7 separate regions of the Homo sapiens genome follow, and regions 1, 2, 3, 4, 6 and 7 are each linked to region 5. The links are contacts of gene promoters, found by promoter capture Hi-C in blood cells and fetal thymus (Javierre and others, 2016). All regions are on one chromosome and are shown on one strand. The core of a region is centred on a gene start or on the middle of the fragment in contact, and the rest is flanking DNA. Distances in the headings are between cores, read along the strand shown.

Region 1 (2,729 bases), core at 208-2,707, 480 kb after region 5:
TTTAAGTATTTAATCCTTCTTGAATTAACTTTTGTATAAGGTGTAAAGAAGGGATCCAGTTTCAGCTTTCTACATATGGCTAGCCAGTTTTCCCAGCACCATTTATTAAATAGGGAATCATTTCCCCATTTCTTGTTTTTGTCAGGTTTGTCAAAGATCAGATGGTTGTAGATGTATGGTATTATTTCTGAGGGCTCTGTTCTGTTCCATTGGTCTATATCTCTGTTTTGGTACCAGTACCATGCTGTTTTGGTTACTGTAGCCTTGTAGTATAGTTTGAAGTCAGGTAACGTGATGCCTCCAGCTTTGTTCTTTTTGCTTAGGATTGTCTTGGCAATGTGGCCTTTTTTTGGTTCCATATGAACTTTAAAGTAGTTTTTTTTTCCAATTCTGTGAAGAAAGTCATTGGTAGCTTCCTGGGGATGTACAAGCCCTTACTCTTAAGCATAATCTACTGATTGCAGCCTGAATTACACCACCAAAAAATACTTCCTGCTTTCATTGCCTGTGAAACCCAGTGCAGTGTTCTAGCAACAAATAAAAATCCTGTGAAGAGCCTTGGCCCTCTAAAAGCATCCAGAAACAAAGCCAATCAACTATACTCAACTTACACTACAGTCAAACCCTCAAGGTAAATAAAGACCATAAAAAGCCCCATCCAAATCACAGCAACTTCAAAAGATAAAGGAACACCAGCCCTCACAGATGAGAGGGAACTAGCACAAGGACTCCGGCAATTCTAAAAGCCAGAGTGTTTTCTTACCTCCAAACAATTGCACAAGCTCCCCAGAAGTGGCTGTTAACCAGATTGAAATGGCTGAAATGACAGACATAGAATTCAGAATCTAGATAGCAAGGAAGCTAAAAAAAAAAAAAGAGAGAAAGTTGAAGCTAAAAAAAAAAAAAGAAATAAAAAAGAAAAAAACAGGAGAAAGTTGAAACCCAATCCAAGGAGAACAGTAAAATAATACAAGAGTTGAAAGATGGTATAACCTTTTTAAGAAAGAACCAAAACTGAACTCCAGGAACTGAAAAATTGACTACAGGAATTTCAGAATACAATTGGAAACATTAACAACAGAATAGATGAAGCTGAGGAAAGAATCTCACAGCTCAAAGACTCCTCCTTCAAATAAACTCAGGTAGACAAAAATAAAGAAAAAATGAACCTTTAAAAATGAACAAAACCTCAGAAATATGGGATTATAAAAAGGGACCAAACTTACGACTAATTGGCACTCCTGAAAGAGAAAAAAGAATAATCAACTTGGAACACATGTTTGAGGATATTGCCCATGAAAACTTCCCTAAGCTTGCTAGAGAAGTCAACATGCAACTTCGATAAATTTAGAGAACCCCTGCGAGATACTATATAAGATGACCATCCCTGAGATACATAGTTACCAGATTCTCCAAGGTCAACACCTCAGAAAAAATCTTACAGGCAGCTATAGAGAAGGAACAGGTCACTTACAAAGGGAACCCCTTCAGGTGAACAGTGGACATTCCAGCAGAAACCTTACAAGCCAGAAGAGTTGGGACCTGCTTTCCAGCATCCTTAAAGAAAAGAAATTCCAACCAAGAATTTCATATCTTACCAAACTAAGCTTCCTAAGTGAAGGAGAAATAAAACCATTTTCAGACACACAAGTGCTAAGGGAATTCATTATCGCTAGACCTGTCTTACAAGAGGTCCTTAGGAAGTGCTAAACATGAAAATGAAAGAACAATACCTGCCACCACAAAAACACACTTAAGTACATAGTCCACAGACACTATAAAGCAACTACACAAGCAAGCCTATATAACAACCAGCTAACAACAATAACAGGATCAAATCTTCACATATCTATATTAACCTTTAATGTAAACAGACTAAATGCCCCAGTTAAAAGGCATAGAGTGGCAAGTTGGATAAAAGAAAAAGACCCAAGTGTCTGCTGTCTTTAAGAGACCCATCTCACATGTAACAACAGCCATAGGCTCAAATTAAAAGAATGGAGAAAGATCTATCATGCAAACAGAAACCAAAAAAGAGCAGGAGTTTCTATTATTACATCAGAAAAACAGACTCGAAGCCAGCAATGATAAAAAAAGGACAAAGAAGGGCATTACATAGTGATAAAGGGTTCAATTCAGCAGTACTTAACTATCATAAATATATACACACACAACATTGGAGCACCTAGATTCATAACAAGTTCTTATAGACCTATGAAGAGACTTAGCCACATAATAATAGTGGGAAACCCAAAACCTCACTGACAGCATTAGACAGATCATTGAGGCAGAAAACTAATAAATATATTCTGGAATTAAACTCAATACTTGACCAGTTGGACCTAATAGACATCTGGAGAATACTCCATCCAACAACTACAGAATATACATTCTCCTCATCTGCACATGGAACATACTCCAAGACTGACTACATGCCATAAAGCAAGTATCAATAAATTCAAAAAAATCGAAATCATACCAACCACACACTCAGACCACAGTGCAATAAAAATAGAAGTCAATACCAAGATCTCTCAAAACTACACAATTACATGGAAATTAAACAACTTGCTCCTGAATAACTTTTGGGTAAAGAATGAAACTAAGGCAGAAATCAAAAAAATCATTTAAAACTAATGGAAATAGAGATGCAACATAGTAGAATCTTTGGGATACACCTAAAGCAGCGGTAAAAGGAACGTTTATAGTGCCAAATGCCTACAACAAAA
Region 2 (2,880 bases), core at 324-2,823, 370 kb after region 5:
AATTGTTCTTAATCCAGTAGTTCTCTAAACCCTTTTACACTTTTAGAAATTACTGAAGACCCCGAAGAGTTTGTTTTGTGGGTTCATATGTATTGATATTTACCAAATTAAAGATAACCTAGACATTTAAAAATAATTTATTTAAAATAATAGACTTGTGATATGTTAATATAAACATTTTTATGAAAAATAACTTTTCCAAAACAAAAAAAGTGAGAAGTGTGGCATTATCTGACATTTGTGTAAATCCCATTAGTGTCTGGCTTCTCATAGCTGGATTCTCATACCCTCTTTTTTCCATTCAGTCTATTGATACTGCATATCATGTAGCCTCTGGACCTCAGCCACATGCTTAGGAGGGAATGACAGTAAACAGGCAAATGGTGACTTGGCATAGTATAAAAATAGTCTTGACCTTGCAGACCCCTTGAAAGGGTCTTGATGACCCCTTGAGTTGGATAGGGTGGGGGTCTTTGTACTACATTTTCAGAACTGCTGCTGTAGGTGGATGATTTTCAAACTTTTTAGTAGCAGGAGTATATTTTCAAATATCTCCTAACAAGTTCCAATGCATAGAAAAGATAAAGGTGGAGCTGTTTTGGTTAAAGTGCATATGTGGTGGGAATACGGATTCGGGAGCAGGGGAAGGTCCCTGGAGCCATGCTTTCACTTTTTTTCTCATTTTTTGGCTGAGCTACTAAATTGGCCAAGGGATTGATACCTCTAAGGCAGGAATACTGTGTGAGAGAAAGTGAGGCAGTTGAACATACTGCAGAGACTTTCCACCCTGTGCCATAGTTTAACTTTCAGGTATTTTATTTAATAGCTTTTTAATATTTTATATAAGTCAGTAAGAAAATTTGCTATAATTTGCAGCAACCTTAGAGAAATATTTATGTAATCGAATGTTATCTAACTCAGGTTTTTAAAAGACAATTTGCTCTCTTTATACATCTGAGAGTATGTAAAATAAAATTCAATCAAGGTCCAATATGTAATCAGACAAAAGTAAGGATGTGGAGGAAGTTTAATATTGGGAATTGGTAATCTAATTGTATGTGCCAAATGCAGGAGGAATTCTCATGGTCTTGAGAGTGGAGGGAATGGCAGCTGGCCAGAGGCTGCCTAGAGCTTGGACCCTGTGTTAGGCAGCACCACCACCAGCTAATGGTAATACGTTGTTGTGGTAAATGCAGTGTTTGACTGCCTTGGGAAACATTCTTAACTCAGTCTGTTTTGTTTCTGTGTAAAACTGTTTCTAATCTTTTTTGTCTTGAAAAAAGGATCCTGACAAAAGTTTCCCACAAAGCTTCTGTTTTTACACAAAAATCCTGTCTCTAAATTTGTAGGCCTTGCCCTTTGGGAGTTTTATCTGACAGGCAATATAAAGTGTCCTCATTACCATCATTATTTATTACCTGTATCATTAAAAAAGACATCATTTATTATATGTAATTATATCACAGTGTTTATATAAAATATGAGCTCTAGCTTTGTTGTCTACATTTTAAGAGAAGGAAAAATTGAGAGATAAAGGGAAAAGTAATGAAAATAATTATAAGGCTGCAAAATACTGTCTTAGGTTTGGATTTAAATATTTTTAAGATGTGATTTAATAACTTCACACATGATTCTTATGAAAAGAGAAAAAACCTGTTTTAATGAGTTAAAAATAGGGTACATCTCCATGAAAGATAGAAGGAGATATAATTGGACAATTTGCCTTCTGGATTAGGTTTAAAATTCAAAAGAACTGCCTAATAGTGATACTAATTAAATTCTAATTATCTTTAGAAATGTGAAAGATAAGTCTGCTAATTTAACCATTTTTTCAGTAAAAGCTTCACTCTAAGCCTATCGTGTTTATTTTTATATTTGTTTAATTTTTTTGAACAAATAGCATCATAAATTTTTTAGCATTTCCAATTAATATTAAAGTGTGCCCCAATTTCTTTGAAGTAGATGGAGTCATGTAGTATTAACCTTTCTAGGCCGGGCGTGGTGCTCACGCCTGTAATCCCAGCACTTTGGGAGGCCAAGGCATGGATCACCAGATGTCAGGCATTCAAGACCAGCCTGGCCAACGTGATGAAACTCTGTCTTTGCTAAAAATACAAAAAATTAGCTGGGCATGGTGGCAGGTGCCTGTAATCCCAGCTCCTCGAGAGGCTGAGGCAGGAGAATTGCTTGAACCCAGGAGGTGGAGGTTGCAGTGAGCTAATATCGCACCATTGCACTCCAGCCTGGGCAACAAGAATGAAACTCTGTCTCAAAAAAAAAAAAATCCGTAGGCAGCTCTCCATCATACCTCACACCAGGAGAGGAGGAAAGTACCCATAGTTTCTTAAAATTTTATGTTTAAAAAAATTAATCAGTGGTATGTTATAGGGAAGTAAGAAATGTTTTAGTAATAGCTACCTTGTTTAAGATCGCAGCTCCTCTCCACCAGGCACTCATGGTCCTCCCTACCTGACTACTCAATTTTTCTTTCTTTCCATTGCAATACCTTCTGTGCTATAATCTAGTTTACTTATGTTTATTATTTCCTGTCTCCTACTCTGCTCCTACAGAAGTGCTTTGAATGCATTGATCTTTGTTTAGTTTACTGATACGTACTGAGTGCCTAGAATATATTTGTTAATTCAATGAATTGCTTTTCCTTTGGCTTCTAGAAGTGGATGTACATTTCTTTTGGGGAAAAATACTCAGCAGACTATTCAAAACTTTAAGAGGCTTCTGTTTCTGGCAGCGTGGCAGAGTAGAGGTTAAAAAAAAGGTCCCACATTATGAAATGTTAAAAATACTGGACTTAATATTCAAAATATCTTTTAAATGCATCGTTGAGCTGACAAGAGGTAAGGAAACTTTCCAGAGGCCCAG
Region 3 (2,756 bases), core at 200-2,699, 370 kb before region 5:
AGTGATAGTCACTGAGGTGGCAGAGGCCTGGACCTGCCGTCAAAGGTGTGTTGATGTTTCCCCATCTTGCGTTCCTTCACACTGTGTACATGCTCTTATTGGAACCCTGGGTAATCTAACTGTTATTGATTCAATCTTTCTGTAGGAAGAAGAACTGAAGCAGGGAGTAAGTTATGTCCCCTACTGCAGGTCTTAACTAACAGTGGAGGGGCCTGCCGACCTGCGGTTTTCTCATTGCTTTTGCTCTAATGTATGTTCATGCTTCAGTTTGGAAAGAGAAAAAAGTCATACTAATTTGCTTCTTTTTCAATGTAGTGCTTGAATTGAGATATATAAATTTAGCATTTTTTATAACTATCACTACTATCCACATCAAAAGAAGAACTATGACATCTTTTAGAAAAGGGAACGAATTGTCATTTATTGGAAACATTTTAGATCCCCAGAGGTATAAGTTTCAAACCAGTCTTAGCTTTTCAAGTTGTTGATCAGACCCTTCTCTTAACAGAGAGATACCACAGTCACTAGAGATACCCTGAGGTTCATGTCATCCCAAAACCCACAGCACTCAGAAGCTAACCTCTACACCCACTCACACTGTGAGTATTCAGTTCGGTTTCATTTTACTGAAAACCTGTGAAACCTCTTTTTATAAAAATCAGGCAATTAAATCCCTTTTCATCACACAATTATTGAGCCTTGTTCCCCATGGCTCACCAAAATGTGCTCAATTTTGTGAGAGAAAGACTGTACTCCATAACTGACTATTCACGTCCCATCTTTTTGGCTCTTCCCCAAAGCAGAATCCTTACTGTTGGTTGACAGTAATCTCTTTTTAAAAAGTAACTCTCAGCTTTTTCCTTAGCACCAGAGCCTTTCGGCTCCGGGAGACGAGAGGGTCATTACATACTTTTTTTTTTTTCTGGAAATAGGGGCATTGTGACTTTATAGCCTAAACTGGAGCTGTCTGAACCTGTGGTCAGGCTCAAGAGCCAGCAGGGGGAGCAGCAAACTCAAAAAAAAAAACAAATTAAATTAAATTAAATTAAATTAAATAGAAGCAAAATAAAAGCAGCTTTAATTTCAAGTGCATGTACCACGCTATGTATGACAATATATCCCACTCACTAGCATTATTTAAAAGTTTCACATTATTTCCATGGATCAATTAGAACCACAACCTGTCCAATTTCAACGTATCTTTCATTTCTTCTGTATGCTCTTTTCTATTATTCATTATGTGTGTTTGTGTGTAACAAAGAATGTTTGGAAAATGCTGGACACATTTTTACCCTTCATTCCCATGGTCTGTAAAAAAGGAAAGTGTAAAATCAATCTGTAATGTCAGACAATAAAGATAATGTATTACATTATTTTGTATTTTGTGAAAAAAATTACTTTACTAAATTAAAGTCAAATTTTAACAGAAGACAGTCCCCCTGGGTGAAGGACACATAACACATACAGCCTGTATAATTGCCCATGAATGCATACATGGGGTATTGCTATTGTATTTCCAATACACTTAGATCATGGTAAAGAAAAATGCCTTCTTCATGATACTTCTCTGCAAATGGCTTCTTTCCTCTCCTGTCTCTTATTTAGCATGTGCATAGAAAAAGGAAATAAGGTTCAATTATAACCTCCCTCCTCCTAGCAGAGAGAGAGGGCAATCATCCTGTCGTCATCAGCCTTGCTTTAGCCATTTCCCTTGGGGATACTTTCCAGGCCATTTCCCAGGCAGCAGGATCTTGAAAGGCTCCTATGGACCAGGAAGTTCGTAAACAGATGGATGCACAGAGCCAAACTGTGGCAGTGCCCCCAAGGTGGCGCCACTGCCCCCTCACCTTCCAGCTCCTCTCCACCAAGCCCCTCAGCAGCTTCTGCATCTCAGGGGGCCAACAGCGGGTACTGCGGTGTCGGTACCCAAGGACCAGGGCCCACGTCACCCAGATGTCAGCAATACATCGTCTGGGTAGTGGCAGAGTTTGCCTATTTCACTTATTTATCTTTTTTGCTTTTATACACAAGCCTCTTTTCAAAAAGGACCTGAGGCAGCTTACAACAAAAGATATAAACAGTGACTTCATAAAATTGAAATAGAAAAATCAAAAACTAAAGAAAATAAAATGTGAATATGCTAATCTTAAGGGACAAGGATGTTACTCTGCATGTTCTGGCAATGAAGCAAAAAAAAAAAAAAAAGGAAAATTATCGGTGGTTTTATCAGTACAGAAATACCACTTCTCAGGGGAACAAAATTTCTGTTGGCATAAAATATGAAAGAAAGTCTTCACTGGGAGCTTTATAGGAGTACTGGACGATAGAAAAGGAAAAAAAGCAGTCATAGATTTCATGTGGCTGTTTCTTATACTGACCTCAGTCAAAATTAAAAGCAGAACCTTATCAATCCCAGCCCTATAGAGGCGGTTCTGCAAGGAAATAAACAAATGCTGTCCAAATATAGACTTCTCATGGTAAAACATGATCTAAGGAGAGAATTTAGAGGTTTTAGACTGGCATCTGCTTCTAAATTCTGTTTTTATTTATGAGTGTTTCTCCCCTTTGGGGACATTGTCTTTGTAAAACCAAACTTAGAACACCCCCACACAACAAATTGTGCTGGATTTAATAACCTCTACTTGCTTTATCATAAGTCTGTGTGGTTCAATGTAGTGTTTTATTATACTGGCATATATAATTTCTACTTACATTGTTTCTTGTTAGAGGTAATGCATGAATTTATCCCTCTCGAG
Region 4 (2,848 bases), core at 111-2,610, 460 kb after region 5:
TGAAGGAAGGTGTGCTTTATGCAAATTGGTATTTTACCATAAAATCTTTTATACAACCTAACACAACCTATTTATGAGGGAATAGGTTTCACAATTAATGGATAAAAAATGATGATGTAAATTATGTGGTAAAAGAACTCTTGGAAACATATAATGTATTGGACCCTGAGAAAAAAACATTTTGAAATTTCTAGCTTGAATAATTGGACAAGTTGTGGGAATAGTAATAAAAATAGGGATATCAGGAAAACGGGAAATTTTGGAGAAATGATAATGAGGTTTGTTTTAGGTAGCACTTCTCAAGAGGGGATGGGGTGGGGACGTATTAAAATGTGAAGATGATTAAGTGTTCATATTAGAAAATTGAGAAATTCTGTTTTGAACGAACCGAGTTTGAGATTTTGGTGGAATAGCAAGATGGATGTGACTAGTGATAAAGTGACAGTGCAGATTATTACTGTCTCTGAGCCTGTTCATGCTGGACTCTGAATTAGGTGCCTGGATACATTGTCTTACATAGCATCAGCACAGAACTGACATTAGCATAGAACTGACATTACCCCCCCAGTTCCTGATCTCAAAAGGTTTAGGTAACTTGTATTTAAACCTGAGTCTTCTATGTCAGAACCCTGGTTTTTATTCCTGGCTGCTTGGGAATATTGGAATAATATGCAGACTGTATATGTGTTTATAGAAGTAACTGGCTTTTTTGTGGTTTTAACTTTACCCCTACTTTATCTATCACACAAAATTAGTTACCTTTTTTAAAAAGTCTACATGACATGACAGATGTAGTTTCTCTTCTGGCTTAACCTGCTGACAGTACCGTACATAGGAATAGATTTAAGACTTTCAAACATCTGTTAATTTACCATATGCTTTTAAAACTGCAACAGTTTAGAGGAAACAAAATATCAAGGGGCATTACCTAAAATATTCCTCCTAATTCTGATGACTGACTTAAATTCCTTTTATGTAATCCACAAATGTCTAGTGAAAGAGTAGAGTTTGTACCACACTATGCTTAAGCTTCCAGGTAAGACAAGTTCCAAGCTCTTTGACTAGAGTCATCTTAGTCTCTCCTAAGTCATCAGAGTAGTTATCAGAATTAATGTTCTTGTCTTGATTGATAATAGTGTCATCAGGGAGTTAATTTTTTAAATCATTAACCAAAGTAGAGTTTGTTGAACTCAATACAAATTTGAAAGGAATAACTTGAAAAAAATGAAAAAAGAAATTGTAAGGATTTTCCCCCATAAACACAGAAAATTACATAAACAGTTGTAAGACCTTTCTAGACCAATGAATTTTAGATACTCAGACAGCGATAGGCCAATAGGCCATTTCAGAGTAGGGCCAGGGAAAGTTTAGGTTGATATTTAGTGTATATGTGTGTGTATCTGTCTGTCTAATTAACTTCTCCAACTCCTGATATTTTCATTATTTATTGTCCCATAGATACGAAATGTGGAAACGAATCAGTGTCTAGATAACATGGCTAGAAAAGAGAATGAAAAAGTTGGAATTTTTAATTGCCATGGTATGGGGGGTAATCAGGTGAGTATCTTAGAAAACTCTTAAAAGGGATAATTTTCAGATTGTTTTTACTTTGCCTTTTTTTTATACCATGACATCATTCAGGAAATATTTTCCTTCCTTTAAAGAGAAAATAATAAAGACTTTTAGGTGAAGGAAGCTTTCAATCCAGTGATTTTTTTTTTTAATGAAACATTTGTGAAAGGCCCATTGTGAGAACTATGTTTACATTGCTGAGCACAAAATTTATTTTGCCCTTTTTATTCAAACAGATGACAACCCTTGACAATACATTCAGTGTATACAGAGAGCTCAAGGTCATTTTTGCTTCAGCTTGTAAGCAAGAAAATGAGTAACATAACATCAATGTAAATTAGTGGTAGCTTTTCTGAGTCACTTTATTCTTCATTACTTTAATAAAGTACATAAATCATGTACCTTGAAATACTTGTATTTTCCCTGACAGCTAATTGGGCATTTAAAATGCTGACTAATTTATTTTTTCTGTTTATGTGTGTGCATTTTTATTTCCAGGTTTTCTCTTATACTGCCAACAAAGAAATTAGAACAGATGACCTTTGCTTGGATGTTTCCAAACTTAATGGCCCAGTTACAATGCTCAAATGCCACCACCTAAAAGGCAACCAACTCTGGGAGTATGACCCAGTGGTAAGTTATGCAGTTGCCTATAGTAATAAAATTATGTGTGTCACTGGGTATATTTATATACTTTATATCTAAAGGAATGAGTTCTTGTGGACCTTGAATATGGATCAAACTTGTCTTATACACTAAATATTGACAGGCGGGAAAAATAAGTAAAATAAATGTGTTTTAATCTCCCTAATAATTAAATTTTAGTCTTATAAAATCACAGTTGCCTCCAATCCCTGGGTCCTTGTTTACTGAGTAGCCACTGTTCCTTCTGTATGTCTTCAAGTTCTATAGTCTAGTTTGGGAGAAATGAGGCAGAAAGTAGGCTTTTAAAATTACTTAATTAAACACTTCAGTGAAAGATAAGTTTTAATTAATAAAGTTCTCTGGCTTGTGATGATTTCCCAGTGACATATATGACAGAACCTTTCCTATTTATCTTTCCTTTTGTCTGGAACCTTTCTCTCCACCACCATCAAATGGGCTCACATGGAAGTACTTAAAAGGTATTAGTTCAATTAAAGCATCCGTGGTAAACCTCTTTCCACCTATTTGCCTAATTTTTCAACTTGTGCTTTTGCCAGGTTCTGGAACCAGCACCAACATCTTCAATATTTCTTTCTCTGGTTCTTTTTAATTTGGCTTAACTTCTGTAAGG
Region 5 (2,925 bases), core at 16-2,515:
AATATGTGTTTTAAGTCTTGGCTCACAAAGGAGAATTTGTTTCTATGTATGTATGTATCGCTTTGTTATTATCCTGTGTACTTTTTTAATATAACATTTTAAAAATATGTAACATTTAAACATGTAAAATGTAACGTTTTAAAAATAAATACAAATAAATGGGAAACGATTTGCAACAAACGAGTTGCTATCCTTAATAAGCAAAAAATTCTCACAAATAAAAAAGAAAAATCTTACTCCCTTAATTTTTTAAATGGGAAAAGCCATCTCTGAAGAACCATAAATGGTCAGTAAACATGAAGGGGGACTATCTTAAGCTCACAAAGTTGAAACATGAGGCATCATTTTTCACCGACTAAATAGCCAAAGAAAAATTTAAACAGTGAGACAATACCAGCAAGCTTCCACTGAAGAACGGGAAGACCCTAAGATAGGCTCCAGGAGTCTACGATACCAGTCTCCTTGAACTATGGGGACGTGGACGTCCCTGGTCACAAGTTGCCTGACTTTGGGCGATGTCTACGGCTGTAAATTTGGGATTATATAGCCACAGCACAGAACTGTTGTAAGGCTCCAGTGATACTCATAGGCAAAAGCAATATAAGTGACTGTTAGTTTTTGTTCAGCCTATTCATCCTTACATTTACTTTTGTCGGAAAAGAACTGGAATCACAGGAAAATCTGAGGTTTTTTTTTTTTTTTTTTTTTTGAGACAGAGTCTCGCTCTGTCGCCCAGGCTGGAGTGCAGCACATCTCAGTTCACTGCAAGCTCCGCCTCCCGGGTTCACGCCATTCTCCTGCCTCAGCCTCCCGAGTAGCTGGAACTACAGGCGCCCGCCAACATGCCCAGCTAAATTTTTGTATTTTTAGTAGAGACGGGGTTTCACCGTGTTAGCCAGGATGGTCTCTATCTCCTGACCTCGTGATCCGCCCGCCTCGGCCACCGCGCCCGGCCGAAAATCTGAATATTTTAATGGAAAACTGGGAGTGAGATTCGGGAATTACTTGAGACCAACAATGATGGGTGGTGCCAGGAGAAAGCCAGGGTGGGAACGGCCCAGGCGAGATGCGGGACCCTCCAGGTGCCGCCGCTCACAAGGACCCCTGACTCCTAGCGCACCCTCCCCTGGCCTTGGAGATTCCGCCGGGCTAGCGGCTACCGGGAGAAGGCGGTGGAAACTGTAGAGCCCGCGGCTCTGATTGGCTACCTCAGAGCAAGGGGCGGGGCGGCGGAGGACCCGAAGGGCGCGAGAGCGGAACACTGCGTACGCGCACTTCCGGTCTTTGTGGCTTGCAGCTCGGGGTGGGTGGCTCATTTCCTGGCCGCTCCTGGGCTTCGCGGTGAGGGACGTGGGCCCCTAGGAAGAGGGAGGTGGGGTTGGGAGCGCGCGCCGGACAGTGGAGGAGCTCCGCTCCTCGGCCTGCCCATCCCCAGGTCGCGGCCCTTTGGCCCGCGCGGCGTCTCCAAGCGACTGGGGAACTCAGAGGAGGCCAGCACTCAAACTCCTGCTTTCCAAAGGAAAACGCAGTTCCGCTGACCCCGTGACTTCGTAAATGCTGCGGTTTAACCAAGGATATAAAAATAGAAGGGCTAGTTAGTTAGTTAGTTAGTGCGGCCGGACTGGTTAAACCTTAAATTTGTAGGCTAAATATTTTAATTCATCTCTTAACGTTAACCGTAGTGTGAGGAATGAATTTTACTCATCTGTCCTGACAAACTAAGGGCATACATTCCTATCGATATCTCGCCATCCTAAAAGCAGGTCAAGTTTGGTCTGTGTCACAACATTTAATACCTATTTGTTACCATATTTTGCTTTTGAACATTTTTAGTCTTGGGATATTCTAAGCTTTTTCAGAACTGATACGGATCTCTTTGCTGCTTTTGTGTATGTGATACCTATCATGTTTTTGAACACATGGTAAGCATTTTACAGATACGTCTTGGTTCTTGGTCAATTCCTCTGTAGACTCGTTTATTCATAAGCAAAAATCTTAATGCTCAGTAAGTGCCTCAGTGTTTGTTGAAGTAATTCGGTAAACACCAAATGCGATCAAATGACAAATATCCAATATTTACATCAACTCATGTTTAATGTGAACTTTTAAAAAAACGTTATTACTGCCTTAAATGAAAATCAACATTACTTGCTTTAGATAGAAAGTAAGTAAAAATAAATGTTTAAAATCAGTATTACTAAATTCTGCCTAAATATTTTTACTCTTGGAAGTCTGATTCTGAAGCCTGTATTTTATTTAAAAGAGAGTTCTACAAGTTTTATTAATACATACATGTTAAAGATAGACTTTTCTCCTTGATACAATCAGAATTGAAAGAATTGGAAAGGAAATTTTCTCACTATGTGATTGATGTTAATGTTGCATTCACATTCTTAGGCTTCTAAAATAGTTTTTTCTAACATTAGTGGTAGGAATTCTTCATAATGGGAGACACTAATTGAGGTTAATGATTTTTAGTTTATCATCACATTATTGTTTTATTTAGTGATAGCCCCAAATCTACTCCCTTTCAATATATTACTAAAGTTACTCATCTTTCTTATTACAAGTACTTAGAGATTTTATTGATTGCTGTAAGTTAACTGCTTTTATATCCTTCAGGAAAGAAGAGATTACTCACACTCCTTCGCAAGCACAGAACCAGTTGTACTGAGCTTTTTGCTAAGCTGTTTCAGCCAAGAATGGCTGTGGAATCTGGAGTGATTTCAACCCTGATACCTCAGGATCCTCCGGAACAAGAACTAATACTAGTGAAAGTAGAAGATAACTTTTCCTGGGATGAGAAATTTAAGCAGAATGGGAGTACTCAATCCTGCCAAGAATTGTTTCGTCAGCAATTCAGAAAATTTTGCTACCAGGAGACACCTGGGCCCCGGGAGGCTCTGAGCCGACTCCAGGAACTTT
Region 6 (3,126 bases), core at 189-2,688, 400 kb after region 5:
TGGGGAAATGCAAATTAAAACTATATTAAGATACCAATTACATCAGATTGTCAAAAATAAAAATGTCTGACAGTAATAAGTGTTGTCAACGATATAACACATCCACCACGTGCAGTGATATAACAGTTCACATCTGGTGGGTGGTTTCAGCCACCTGGGAAAACAAATTGGTGATATCTGATCATATTGAAAATATGCATACTGTGCCACCTAACAACCATACGTATATACTTTAGATCAGGGGTCGGTGTGATGACTCATGAGTTAAGAATGGTTTTTAACATTTTTAAGTGCTTAAAAAAAATAATATTTTGTAATTTATAGTGTGAAAATTATATGAAATTCAAATTTTGGTGTCCAAAAATAAGCTTGGAATATTGTCACATTCATTTATGTACCTCTTACAGATGCTTTCATGGTACAACACTAGAGTTAAGTTGTTGCAACAGACATTGCATGACTCAAAAAGCCTGAAATCTTTATCATCTGGCCCTTTGCAGAAAATATTTACTGACCTCTTCTCTAAATAAATACTCTTGCACATGCGTACTAGTAGACATGTTCAGGAATGGTCATAGCAGTATTGCTTGTAATAACGGAAACCTAGAAAGAACCCAAATGTCTGTTAAGAGTAGAGAAATAGGTTTGCTAAGCCAGCGGAATACTATTCAGTAGTGAAATGGAATTGGATGCATGGATGGATCCAAGCATATGGATAAATCTCAGAAACAGTGTTAGAAAAAAGCAAGTCAGGTTTTTCCACTTATAAGCACTTCAGAAACAGTCAAGTATAAATAAGGCATTGTTAAAGATACTCGTGAGGTTAAATTATCAGGACAAGGAAGGACCGTAAGAATAGGGATTGCCTTTGAAGAGTTGGGGAAGAGATGGGATTTGAGAGGGAACTTTAAAAATCATGTTCTTATTGTTAAACCAGGTGGTGGAGATGTGTGTTGTGTTGTGATCATTTATTTCCGTGACATGTTTTATACGTACTCTTTTGATATTTTATAAGTTTTTGTGATCTGGGGCATTAAAAAGTATCTTTTCAAATAGTATAGTCTGTCTCATAATATATAATTATGACCCACAGAGTGGAAGCTCATCAGCAGACTAGAAGCTGCTTTTTACCTATTGCCCCCTCTTCCCTGGTTCCCCAAGCATTCTGGTTGTGTCAGGAACCCAATTCAGATTTTCTTAAGCAGAAAAGGGGACTAATAGGATTCCTCGTTGGGTCACTGAAGCCAAGGAAGAGTCAGGGACTTGGTCACTGTCAGGGTGCTCTGCCACTCATCTGTATGTCTCTGCTTGGCCACATTGTTTTTGGCTGCAAGTGGCCTTCTCCATGTCGGGGGCAGTGTGACTGAGCGCAGTCCTAGAGCACAGCCTTCCAGGTCTGTGACTCAGGCCAAGGAGTCAGGTCCTGTGGTCAGCCTGGCTAGGTCATACTGTGGCCAGGCAACTGGATCTGTTACCAGAAGAAACCTTTTGAGGAGGGGAGGAGAGGTTAAGGGTCAGAATCATGAGCCCGGCAGCCACTTCTGTTTGTAATGGTTACATATGTATTAATTGTAAAGCAATATGTGTGGCATTTTGTCACACCTTTGTGTGGATATCAGGGCTGTTTTGATGTTAACGCTAAGATGTTGCCTAAGACATGGCACTGAGACATGGCCGAGGTGGGAAGAGGGGTTAGAAATGTCTGTTGAGCATATTATTACCTGTTAAAAATAAAAATACAGCATGATCAGCTCTCCTACCACTTTATAGTCACACCTGTCTCCTTCCCTTCTTCCCATAAGGACATTTAAGGCATTAAGTACTTGAGTCTAAATAGATGTTACAAACTTGGTTTAAAACATAACACATATCTGGCTGGGCACGGTGGCTCACGCCTGTAATCCCAACACTTTGGGAGGCCGAGGCAGGCAGATCACGAGGTCAGGAGATCGAGACCATCCTGGCTACCACAGTGAAACCCCATCTCTACAAATTCAAAAAATGAGCAGGGCGTGGTGGCAGGCACCTGTAGTCCCAGCTACTCGGGAGGCTGATGGCAGGCACCTGTAGTCCCAGCTACTCGGGAGGCTGAGGCAGGAGAATGGCGTGAACCGGGGAGGTGGAGCTTGCAGTGAGCCGAGATCGTGCCACTACACTCCAGCCTGGGCAACAGAGTGAGACTGACTCAAAAAAAAAAAAAGAAAAAAAAACACATATCTACTATTCTGAATGACTGGAAGGGCATTTAACCCATTGGTGTTTCATTGGGATGCAAATTTGTAGGGAGTTTGTATCTTTTGCTTTTCTGTTTGCCAGGTTCTTTGTTTTGAACATACATTACTTTACAAACAGGAAAAATATAAACTTTTAAAGGTATTGGTGGAAGTCAGTTTGTCATCTTAAAAACTGACATTCCACTCAAGACACTAAACACTGTATTCTCTAATTTGAAACATTCGAGCCAATAAATTTTATAGGAGTTTATTTACATCATGACTACCCCAAATGATAAGCTTGTTCTTCTGACCTCTAAACTTGAGATAACACCCGGGAAATAACTACAGAAAGAGAATATCCAGGTTTTAATGGAATGTGGACATCAATCTGGGCAGGAATTTTGGATTGATTATTTGCTAATTTTTTGTTAAATACTTATGTTGAATAAGAAGATTCCAAGACCTGAAAATTGGTTCTCCTTTTTCTTTGGCTATCGAATAAGGCTTCTCAGTGCTAAATTTCGATCAGTAACCACTTGACAGCTCAAAAACTGTGGCAGAAGTATTGGCCTGAACACTTTATAGGAAGCTGGGAATATAAATTGAAGCCTACGAGACTGGAGCCGTACTCACTTTGGCTACTAGGGGTAAGCCAGAATAGCTGCTACTTGGTTTTGACAATTTTGGCTTCAGTTATCTTTCTACATATTCACTTTTATATTGCTATAAGGTAGGATCCAAGTTTATTTTTTAATTATATGGAAAGCCACTTGTCCCTGCACCAATTTTCTTTGTAGTAGCATCTTTTTAGTTTTTCACACTTGTATGGATTTGTTTTGGGTTACCATATGGTTTTAAGTACGTCTGCTTTATAATTCAGTCCAGGCCAGGCGTGGTGACTCACACCAGT
Region 7 (3,072 bases), core at 355-2,854, 350 kb after region 5:
AAGCTTTAACATACATGTAGGTGAGTGATTGCTATTTCAAAAGACTAGAGGTAGGAAATGAGGCTAATGCACTACTTCACATGACTTTGTATGCAGGAGCATACAGGTGCATTTTTAGAAATGGAATCAGATGGTCTCGTCAATGGGTGAAGGAAAAATAAGTCAATCACTTGATTTGTAAGGGGTGTCACCATTAACAGCAATGGAAAAAAACAGAGTTTGAGAAGAGTTAATGAATGTGTCTTGGTACATATCCAGTTGCAGGTGTCAGAGAAGGATTCCAGGTGGAACTGTCCTGTAGGCTTCATAGTTGGAGCACTGCATCTTGTTGGGAGAGGTCAGGTCTGGAGGTGCAGATGAGCATCATCAGCATTGAAATGATGAAAACAGGGAGTGGTAGAAAGGGCTGAGGAATAAACCTGAGGGGATACTTACAGTTACGGGCCCGGATGAGGAAAGTGACTTTTACATCCTCACTGGGCACATATTTATTGAGTATCTGTTTGTGCCAGGCACTGTGACTACAATGGGAACTAAACAGACATAGATCCTGTCTTTGTTGATCATACAATTTAATGAGGAAGATAAAAATAGAAACAATTAAGTAAACAATGGGAGAAATGACATTTCAGCTGAGACCCAGAGGTCAAAAAGATTTTAATAATACAAAGAGTATGGGCAAGAGGATTCTGGTAAAAAAGAATGCTATGCACAGAGACTGTGTAGCAAAGAGGACTCATTCTGTTTAAGGAACTGAAATACCAGTGTGGCTGAAGGGCCATTGGTGCAAGGGATGGGGGTGGGGTGAGATGAAGGTAGGAAAATTGGCATGGTATAGCTGATGCAAGACCTCATTCTCAGTGCTGTTGAAAGGTTTTGAGTAGGAGAAAGCTCTGCTCCTGATTTTAAGCAGATCACCCCTGCTGCAGTGTGGAGAATGGATTTGGGTGAGAGGGTGGGATGGGTAAAGGGGAGGCATGGAGATCAGTTGGGAAGCTCTTGCAGGAGGCCTGGACTAAATGGTGGTAGTGGATATGTCTGAGGCTGGGGATCAGGCTCTGGTGTTTGTCTCAGCAAGCTCTTCTGGCCTTCACCTTAGTACCTTTGTTTTTCTTTATCATCATATGTATCATGTTACCCCTCTCTGTTTATCCTTGCCCCTTTTAGACTGTGAATCCCTTATGTAGGGATAAGGACCTTCTCTTACTGGTCTGCCTACCACCTGAAAAGTGATCAGTAAATGTTGAATAAATCAATGTACTTGTCTTCATACTGAGGTTGTTTTCCTGTTGTTGTTGTTGTTTTTCCTTGAGAGGAGTTGCAAGACGTGGGAGGCTGTGGGCAGGGTTCCACGGGAGAAGGAGGATGCTGCATGTCTGGGACTTGTGAGGAGGAAGCACTGAAGAAATCTATGTGGCACACGGAGGTGTTTTCAGGTGTTGAACCATAGGGAGGTCTACGTGATTTCCTCATTAGGAGGATTAGAGAGGGCAGAGTCAGGAAACCAATAGAGGAGGCCTTATAAAGAAGACAGTTGCTGATGTCCAGTGCTGCTGAACAGGCAGGAGGGTGAAAAGATTCTTTCTCTGCTCTCTGTAGTTTTAGCAGAGGCGGAAGAGCAGAAATCTATTACCAGGGGATAGGAGTGACAGCAAATGTAGACCATTCCCTGAGGAAGTATTTGGGAGAGGAGAAAGGAGGAGATTGTAGCTTGCATTCGGGGTAGTTGAGGCAAGTGGTTTTTAGGATAGGAAGGAGCAGAACCTATTATTAGTAGGTCGTAGGTTATGTTGAGTCAGGGTAGTAAGGTATATGAGAGTCACTGAGGGGTGACGGGGGACAAGGAAGGTCAACTGTGGTGACTGGAGATGGCAAGCACCCCATTGCAAGAGGGCAGCTAATCACCTACTAGGATTTTGCTCTTTGGGTATGCTCAGTCAGTGGTGGCAGATAATTTTTTTTTTTTAAACCAGAGAAGCTAGAATACAAGTCTTTTTTGTTTTGAGATGGAATCTTGCTCTGTCACCCAGGCTGGGGTACAGTGGCGCGATCTGGGCTCACTGCAACCTCCGCCTCTCGGGTTCAAGCTATTCTCCTGTCTCTGCCTCCTGAGTAGCTGGGACTACAGGCACGTGCCATCACACCTGGCTAAGTTTTGTATTTTTAGTAGTGACGGGGGTTTCATCATGTTGGTCAGGCTGGCCTTGAACTCCTGACCTCAGGTGATCTACCCACCTCAGCCTCCCAAAGTGTTGGGATTACAGGAGTGAGTCACCGTGCCCAGCCTATAATACAAATCTTGATTTTTCAAGTGCAATGTCCTGATTTTGGCAGTTAAATCAGTTTTTAAATCTTTTCTTTGGGCGGGGGGCGGGGGCAGGAGTAGGGGACAAAACCCTTGTCTCTGGCATAACTTTGCCTGAAAGTTACCTTGGGAGAAAGGGCTGATGGCATTGGTTGGTGAATGTGAAAGAGAAGAGGAGTTATTTGTGGAGCAAGGCTTCTAAGGCTTTGAAAAGGAATGTAATTAAGTGTACAAATAAAGAGTATTATCCTTAAAAAGGAGAAAAAACTCAGAGGAACAAGGGAGTGTGAGGTAAAAGTGAGGTGGAAGGAACTCCGGTCTGATGAGGTGGGATTTCTCTGTAGAGAGGCAAGGACTATGTTGGCTGGTCTGAGGATGTGCACAAGGGAAGGTAGAGGGTGAGAGAGGGGGTCCAGGAGAGGAGCTGTAAAGAATAGTAAGGCTTGGTCTGGCTAGTTAGTGTAGGTTTACAGGGGACCTTGCCAGTGTTTCAGAACTTTCTAATGCCACTATCCTAGAAGTTGAAGCAGAAAAAGTGAAGAGTAGAACTTACTGAGGGTTAGAGATTGTATGTAAGGCTGAAAGGTCCAATGAAGTGAGGGATTTTTTGTGTGTCAAAGAGTACCTTATTACAAAGGTAATATGACTTCTGTGTTGGAAGCTGAGCACATTAAACTAGAAGGCTGGTTAAGTGTACTAGGAGGCAACTTCCTGCAGACGGAGAAGAACAAGTTTGGCAGGGGTGAGGGAACCTAAGCCCCAGTGGT

Evidence for each region. Contacts are between HindIII fragments. The CHiCAGO score rates a contact against its expected background, and 5 or more counts as called.
Region 1: a fragment that was not itself captured here is called in contact with the fragment with the promoter of ZNF397 in region 5 in 1 of 17 cell types (erythroblasts); the score reaches 5.4 in erythroblasts.
Region 2: a contact is called between a fragment that was not itself captured here and the fragment with the promoter of ZNF397 in region 5, in 3 of 17 cell types (total CD4 T cells, total B cells and erythroblasts). The highest score is 5.6, in total CD4 T cells.
Region 3: a fragment that was not itself captured here is called in contact with the fragment with the promoter of ZNF397 in region 5 in 1 of 17 cell types (megakaryocytes); the score reaches 6.9 in megakaryocytes.
Region 4: a contact is called between a fragment that was not itself captured here and the fragment with the promoter of ZNF397 in region 5, in 1 of 17 cell types (endothelial precursors). The highest score is 5.4, in endothelial precursors.
Region 6: a contact is called between a fragment that was not itself captured here and the fragment with the promoter of ZNF397 in region 5, in 2 of 17 cell types (erythroblasts and total B cells). The highest score is 5.2, in erythroblasts.
Region 7: a contact is called between a fragment that was not itself captured here and the fragment with the promoter of ZNF397 in region 5, in 5 of 17 cell types (total B cells, total CD8 T cells, activated CD4 T cells and 2 more). The highest score is 7.9, in total B cells.

Annotation. Positions count from the first base shown.
Region 1 is chr18:35,723,665-35,726,393 of GRCh38, forward strand. All of the region lies in intron 1 of LOC105372064 (a long non-coding RNA gene), which reads right to left. Among named protein-coding and RNA genes, the nearest start is that of MIR3975, 130 kb to the left of the region's middle. The HindIII fragment of the contact is 295 bases long and covers 1,311-1,605 here.
Region 2 is chr18:35,610,595-35,613,474 of GRCh38, forward strand. All of the region lies in intron 1 of GALNT1 (polypeptide N-acetylgalactosaminyltransferase 1), which reads left to right. Among named protein-coding and RNA genes, the nearest start is that of MIR3975, 20 kb to the left of the region's middle. The HindIII fragment of the contact is 532 bases long and covers 1,308-1,839 here.
Region 3 is chr18:34,865,966-34,868,721 of GRCh38, forward strand. All of the region lies in intron 17 of DTNA (dystrobrevin alpha), which reads left to right. Among named protein-coding and RNA genes, the nearest start is that of DTNA-AS1, 100 kb to the left of the region's middle. The HindIII fragment of the contact is 3,379 bases long and covers 1-2,756 here.
Region 4 is chr18:35,701,439-35,704,286 of GRCh38, forward strand. GALNT1 (polypeptide N-acetylgalactosaminyltransferase 1) reads left to right here. Exons shown (of 12, transcript NM_020474.4): 10 at 1,459-1,557; 11 at 2,071-2,205. The region is part of intron 2 of LOC105372064 (a long non-coding RNA gene); the gene reads right to left. Among named protein-coding and RNA genes, the nearest start is that of MIR3975, 110 kb to the left of the region's middle. RefSeq lists an enhancer at 1,667-1,961. The HindIII fragment of the contact is 667 bases long and covers 1,028-1,694 here.
Region 5 is chr18:35,239,769-35,242,693 of GRCh38, forward strand. ZNF397 (zinc finger protein 397) reads left to right here and starts at 1,266. Exons shown (of 4, transcript NM_001135178.3): 1 at 1,266-1,341; 2 at 2,623-2,925. The coding sequence starts at 2,703. RefSeq lists enhancers at 948-1,057, 1,003-1,528 and a silencer at 1,318-1,447. The HindIII fragment of the contact is 1,449 bases long and covers 400-1,848 here.
Region 6 is chr18:35,641,609-35,644,734 of GRCh38, forward strand. All of the region lies in intron 1 of GALNT1 (polypeptide N-acetylgalactosaminyltransferase 1), which reads left to right. Among named protein-coding and RNA genes, the nearest start is that of MIR3975, 51 kb to the left of the region's middle. The HindIII fragment of the contact is 2,145 bases long and covers 367-2,511 here.
Region 7 is chr18:35,591,724-35,594,795 of GRCh38, forward strand. The region is part of intron 1 of GALNT1 (polypeptide N-acetylgalactosaminyltransferase 1); the gene reads left to right. It overlaps MIR3975 (microRNA 3975), which reads left to right and starts at 14; the gene lies at 14-83. RefSeq lists an enhancer at 549-668. The HindIII fragment of the contact is 3,207 bases long and covers 2-3,072 here.